Linked DNA regions of Homo sapiens: region 1 is linked to region 2. Evidence: promoter capture Hi-C in 16 types of primary human blood cells and fetal thymus (Javierre and others, 2016). All regions are on one chromosome and are shown on one strand. Each heading gives the region's core, a stretch centred on a gene start or on the middle of the fragment in contact. The rest is flanking DNA. Distances are from core to core; before and after follow the strand shown.

Region 1 (3,173 bases), core at 19-2,518, 410 kb before region 2:
GCGGGGCCGACACTGGTCTCTTACGTGCTGCCCTCTCGTGGTCACCCAAACACATGCAGCTAAAGCTTTCTTCCGATGCCGCTCATCTATTTGTTCAAATCCACAGGAACAGAGCCCAGGATAAAGGCGGACAGGTGATGGAGGTTGGCAACAGCACAGCTGACTCCACGGGTCTGAAACTATTGCTATGGCTGGCACTTCGTCAATGTGTGGGGTTCAGAGGAGGTCAAAAAAAATCATAGAGGCAAGAAACAGTGATTATTCTTTAGACTTTGTTAAGAGGAAATTTGGAAAGAAAACGTGTGTGTGTGTGTGTGTGTGTGTGTGTGTGTGTGTGTGTGTGTGTGTGTGTGTTATGCATATGAACACAGAGGTGGAGAGGGAGACAAACAGAGGAGAGATAATCTGATAGAGAGATTTTGTTCCAGTGCACTGCCCACGTGGTCTGGTAGGAAGAGCAGGTGGGTGAACTCGGGCAGGAGACAACACAGTTGCCTCACTACAAAATGATGTCCTTGAATAGATTATCTCTAAAGTCCCTTCCCATCCCAATTACGATTCTACTTAAAACAAAACAGAAAAGAAACCCCTTTCTTTCCCCGTGCTCATTTCACGCACCCGAGCTGATGGTCCTGGCTGCCCTTCTGCCTGCCTGCTCTCTTGCTTCTCTTTCCCTGTTTTCTAACAAAGAACTCCTTATGCCGTCACTTTGGCTTACATACATGCTGCCTTCTTTTTGAATCCATGGGATTTTCAATATGATGTACTAAAAGTTTCATTTTTCTTTTTGAGTCTCAGTCAAGGGTATTCCAATTGTCTTGTCTCTGAATTTTTTTTCCTTCTTTTCATGATCCCCTAAAACTTTCATGTGTATCTTACCCTGTTCTTTGTTGCTGGGAAAGATAAGTTCCTGGCCGAAAGCTGTCAGTGTCGGTCTTCAGCACAGAGCCTGTCTTTTAGGTGGGAAATACACCACGGTTATTCATTCCATTAATCTGCATATTGGCTTAGAGCGGCGATTCTCAAAGTGTGATCTGGGTACCCTCCAGGAGTTCCTGAAAGACTTCCAGGGAATCCATAAGGTCTACACTATTTTCAGAATAAAACCAAGATGCTTGCTTTTTTCCCTTCTCATTCCTTTATGAGTGAGTGTATGCTGGAGTTTTCCAGAAGCTACATGATATGTGATACTGCAACAGACTGACAGCAGTGGCGGATGTAAGATCAGCTATGTCTTCTATTTAGCCAGCTATTAAAGAGATTTCTGAAACTGTAGCACAATGACAGTCTTCTCGCTAGCATTTTTTGTTTTGAAAATATATGCCCTACCCTGAGCTTAAAAAAAAAATAAAAAAGAGGCCAGGCGCAGTGGGTCATACCTGTAATCCCAGCACTTTTGGGAGGCTGAGGCGGGCTGATCACCTGAGATCAGGAGTTCAAGACCAACCTGGCCAACATGGCAAAACCCTGTCTCCACTAAAAATATAAAAATTAGCCGGGTGTGGTGGCTCACACCTGTAATCCCAGCACTTTAGGAGGCCAAGGTGGGCAGATCACAAGGTCAGGAGTTTGAGACCAGCCTGACCAATATGGCGAAGCCCCGTCTCTACTAAAAATACAAAAACTAGCCAGGTGTGGTGGCACGTGACTGTAATCCCAGCTACTTGGGAGGCTGAAGCAGGAGAATTGCTTGAACCCAGGAGGTGGAGGTTGCAGTGAGCCGAGATTGCTCCACTGCACTCCAGCCTGGGCAATAGAGGGAGACTCTGTCTCAAAAAATATATATATATAAAAATTAGCTGGGCATGGTGGCATGTGCCTGTAATCCCAGCTACTCGGGAGGCTGAGACATGAGAATCGCTTGAACCCAGGAGATGGAGGTTGTAGTGAGCCAAGATTGCACCACTGCACTCCAGCCTGGGCAACAGAGCAAGACTCTGTCTCAAAATTAATAACTGGTATTTTCCATAAAAATATGTTAGCATGAAATGTATAATTTATTATATTTAAAGGAATTTATAAATATTATCCCATTTTTTCCATTTCTAATTTCTAGTATAGTAAATATCAATAGATATATTCCACATAATAAACAAAGGCTCTTCGGGTCCCAGATAATGTTGAAGATATAAAGAAATCTCGAGTCCAAATAGTTTCAGAATCGCTGACGTAGAGGAACCATGGGATTGTGGGGTGACTCCGAAGCTCAGTTTGCACACGTATCCTGGGCCCCGATGTAACATGAGGAGAGATTCGGGGTGGGTGCCAGTTCACTAGTTACCTGATTTTAAAGAGTGGAGGAAGGGGGTTAGGTTCAACACCGTTCCCCAGGAAGCACCTATTCTCAGGTTGCCTTCAACTTTCCCTGAGCCCAGGAAAAGCAAAGCTCCTTTGCGTTGCACCTGTGCTGAGCCAAAAGGGGCGGTGGCCCCAGCTGAACATATGCTGCTGTGTGATGCTAGGCAAGCTTGTTTCCCTGGTGCCACTGCAGAGTCTGTGTCCGAAGATTCTAATAGGCTGGTCCTTGCAGCAGCTGTGGGTTCCATAAAGGGACTGGCCTGAAACAGATCCCCCCGGCTTCTCACTGCTGTACTGTAGAAACCAGAAAGCTAAATGTTACATTTTTTAAAAACCCATTTGCAGCTAGGGCACTGTTATCAGATACTCTAAATTGTGTTCCAGAAAAGCACGTAGAAACTCTAACCCCAGCCAGGCACGGTGGCTCACACCTGTAATCCCAGCACTTTGGGAGGCCGAGGTGGGTAATCACGAGGTCAGGAGTTCCAGATCAGCCTGAACAACATGGTGAAACCCCGTCTCTACTAAAAATGCAAAAACTAGTTGGGTGTGGTGGTGGGTGCCTGTAATCCCAGCTTCTTAGGAGGCTGAGGCAGGAGAATTGATTGAACCCGGGAGGCAGAGGTTGCAGTGAGCTGAGATCACACCATTGCACCCCAGTCTGGGTGACAGAGCAAGACTCCATCTCAAGAAAGAAAGAAAGAGAGAGAGAGAGAGAGAAAGAAGGAAAGAAAGAAAGAAAGAAAGAAAGAAAGAAAGAAAGAAAGAAAGAAAGAAAGAAAGAGGGAGGGAGGGAGGGAGGAAGGAAGGGACTCTAACCCCCAATGTGACCTTTTTTAGAGATAGGGCCTTCAGAGAGGCAACTAAGATTAAAC
Region 2 (3,021 bases), core at 405-2,904:
TTGTTCTTAAGGCATTTATAAAGATGTGTACAAATAATTATACTGTAAGACAAATCTTTGTCATTTGAGAAGTTCAAAAAACTGCTAAGGGGTTCAAAGGCAGGCCAAAGTTACAACAATGGTATAAAGTAATGGTTCTAAGTGGGGTCTGGGAACCCCTAGTGCAGTTCCTGAGACCCTTTCGCGGGGTCCACAAGGTCATAAAGATTTTTCATAACAATATTAAGACTTTATTTAGCTTTTTCATTCATTCTTTCAGGAGTGGACACTGCAGTTTCCAGCGTTCTGTGACCTGTAATAGTGCGACAGACTGAATGCAGAAGCACATAAACGAATCCAGCTCTGTGATTAAGCCAAGACATTAAAGAGATCTTCAAAATGAAAACCAATGCCACTTCTCTAATAGACTTTTTTGTTTTGGAAAATTTGTTTTTCCACGAAAGTATTATTTCTGTTACCATATAATGGGTTATTCTTTTTAAATAAATTAATATTTTTTAAATGTCTTAGCTTTAATTTCAAAGGTGGTAAATATCAGTATGTATTACATGTATGTATTATCTCTAACCCACATAAGAGCTCTCTGGGGTCCTCAATAATTCTTAAGAGGGTAAAGGAGTCTCGAGACCAAAACTTCAGGAACCCTAATACAGCCATTCCAAACCTAACAAGGAAAATAGTTTTACTTCGAGTTTCATGTTCATGGTGAAGTCAAGAAGAGAACGTGGTAACCTGGTTTGATGGAGGGAGATGATGAGTTCGGCGTCAGTCTTTCCCAATACCTTGCAAAATGTTCATGAATTCCTGCACCCCACCCTCTGCATTCATCACCTCGCCTGCGCTTCTTCCCAGCCTTCCTTAGGTCTCCCAGAGCAGTGTCCACATCCCTTTCTTTTGCATTTTAAGTCCTCTGGATGACTGCCCCATCCTAGGGGTCCCCTGACAGCTTTCCTTCTCTCACTATCCTCCGGGGTCAACCTCGACTTCTCCCTTTCACCAGGGGCGGGGGTGGGAACAGGGAGCGAGGCAGCCGCTGGGCCACTTTTGCCTCCACCCTCCAGAGCCCTGGGCCCCGCTCTCAAACCCCAGGCGTTCCGGGGAGCTGCTGAGTTCCGCTCCGCCTCAATGACCGAAGTCCTCCCCACCTCCGCTCACTCACGCCGGCGGCCCCCGCCGCGCTCAGCCCCACCGACAGCGCCCCCACCTCCCCACCGCAGCCCACCCCGCTCGACCCGCGCGCCCGGCCTGCCGCGGCCCTGAGCTCACCTGAGGCGGAGGCGCCCGCGACTCCCCGCCAGCTCCGCCAGTCTCCTCCAGCCCCGGCCCTCGGGCGCCTGATCCAGGAGCTCGCTGAGCCTCCGCAGCAGCGGCTCCCGCAGGCGGTTGAGGGTCGCGCCGGCCGGAGGGGCGAGCAGCGGCCCCGTGGGGGCGGCCGAGGGCGGCAGGGCCTGTAGCGGGTCCCCCAACAGCGACATGGCCCTCGCCGGCGACCCCGGACTGCCGGGGCTCCCGCCCGCCCCGTCACGGGCCTCGGCCCCGGGGCACCTTCCGCTCGCCTCCGAGCCGCGGAGGCAGGGGCGGAAGAACAAATCTGGCAGCGCGGCACGGCCCTCAGAGGAGGAAGCTCCGCTCCCCGCCCCAATTAGACAGGTTTGCCGAGGGGAGCCTGGCCTGCTGGCCGCGCCAGCCGCGCAAAGGGGCGGGGCACCCGGGGGGCGGGGCACGGAGCCTCGAGGGGCGGGACCTTGGGCCTCGAGGGGCGGGGCGGGGCTGCCTACTGCGTGCGTGCGGCTGCGCGCCTCCCTCGCCCTCCCCCGCGGTCCCGGGCTGGCCGTGGCGCGCGCTTCAAACCCAGCCCTCCCGAGCAGGAAAGGACGGGTGGGTGCAGCTGGAGGAGGAAGCGGTGGAGGAATTACGCCCCGGCAGCTCCTCTACGGCGGGGAAGCCTGCGGCGTCTGGGCTTCCTGAGACCGTGGGAGGAGGCCTGCGTACTCACGCCAGAGAGCGGGGCAAGCGGTTCTCAGTCGCCGGCTCCCGCCCGCAGTCCCCGGCGAGCGCTCTCCCCTGACTCAGGGACTTTCATGTGCCCGGCGACACACCAGCATCCTGCAGTGGGCAACCTCAGCGGACGCTTCCTCGTTTTAGGGTTAGATGTGTATGGCATTGCTAGAGGGAAGTAGTGCTGGAGATCCGGATACTTGAGTTGGAATTGGCCAAAATCTTTGCCTAGACTTTTAAACAATTACTACTTTGCAAACTGAGCTGTGGCATATTTAGGGCTAATCAGATCTTGGAAATGATTGTTTTTAGCAGGAATCATCTGGTTTACACCGCGTCAGACTGCCGCCCGCAATCTCCGTCATCAAAGCAGGCAACCCTGTAGAGGATGCCTTTCCCTGGAATGATCCGGAATGGACGACACCTGAGCTCTCTCTGCCAATCTTAGCAACATCCAAGGCCATTATCCCTTTGAAAACTATGGCTTCGTTTGGGACAAAAAGGAAGTAACTTACGAAATGTGACCAGTCAGGTAGTTCCCTACACGAGGCTTCCTGGCCCAATTTCTGTTGCCATTAGCTTTTCATCACCCAAGGCCGCAGGATTTTCTGACCAGTAATTTGGATACCTATATTCTTATACATGTTGGCGAGGTAGGTGCGCCATACAGTCTCCACCACATTCTAGCACAAGCAGTCATTAAACTTCACTCTAGCATAAGTTAAGAATTCAGACTGCAGTGAGATGGCTAAGAGCATGAAAGATCTGCTCGATTCAAGTGTTAGGAGCTTGAATAAGTTTCTTAATTTCTCTGCCTCATCTATTAACACAGGACTGACAATACAGTTTATATAGAGTTGTTGCCAGAATTAAAGGAGTTGATGTATGTGAAGCACTTAACTCGGTAACTGGCACATCGTAGATGACTCAGTAAATGCTATTACCCTTACACATACAAGTGCCGTTTCATACTCAGTTTGACTTGGCAAGCCTTTCCCAACCGCTTCAGGTGCCTTCCTGTTT

What was found. Contacts are between HindIII fragments. The CHiCAGO score rates a contact against its expected background, and 5 or more counts as called.
Region 1: a fragment that was not itself captured here is called in contact with the fragment with the promoter of MALT1 in region 2 in 2 of 17 cell types (total CD4 T cells and naive B cells); the score reaches 7.2 in total CD4 T cells.

Annotation. Positions count from the first base shown.
Region 1 is chr18:59,081,225-59,084,397 of GRCh38, reverse strand. No RefSeq gene overlaps it. Among named protein-coding and RNA genes, the nearest start is that of SEC11C, 57 kb to the left of the region's middle. The HindIII fragment of the contact is 2,402 bases long and covers 68-2,469 here.
Region 2 is chr18:58,670,098-58,673,118 of GRCh38, reverse strand. It overlaps MALT1 (MALT1 paracaspase), which reads right to left and starts at 1,654. Exons shown (of 17, transcript NM_006785.4): 1 at 1,267-1,654. The coding sequence starts at 1,475. MALT1-AS1 (MALT1 antisense RNA 1) reads left to right here and starts at 1,246. Exons shown (of 2, transcript NR_164150.1): 1 at 1,246-1,650; 2 at 2,311-3,021. It overlaps LOC105372146 (a long non-coding RNA gene), which reads left to right. Exons shown (of 4, transcript XR_935537.3): 4 at 260-506. RefSeq lists a silencer at 1,126-1,915 and an enhancer at 2,076-2,335. The HindIII fragment of the contact is 13,202 bases long and covers 1-3,021 here.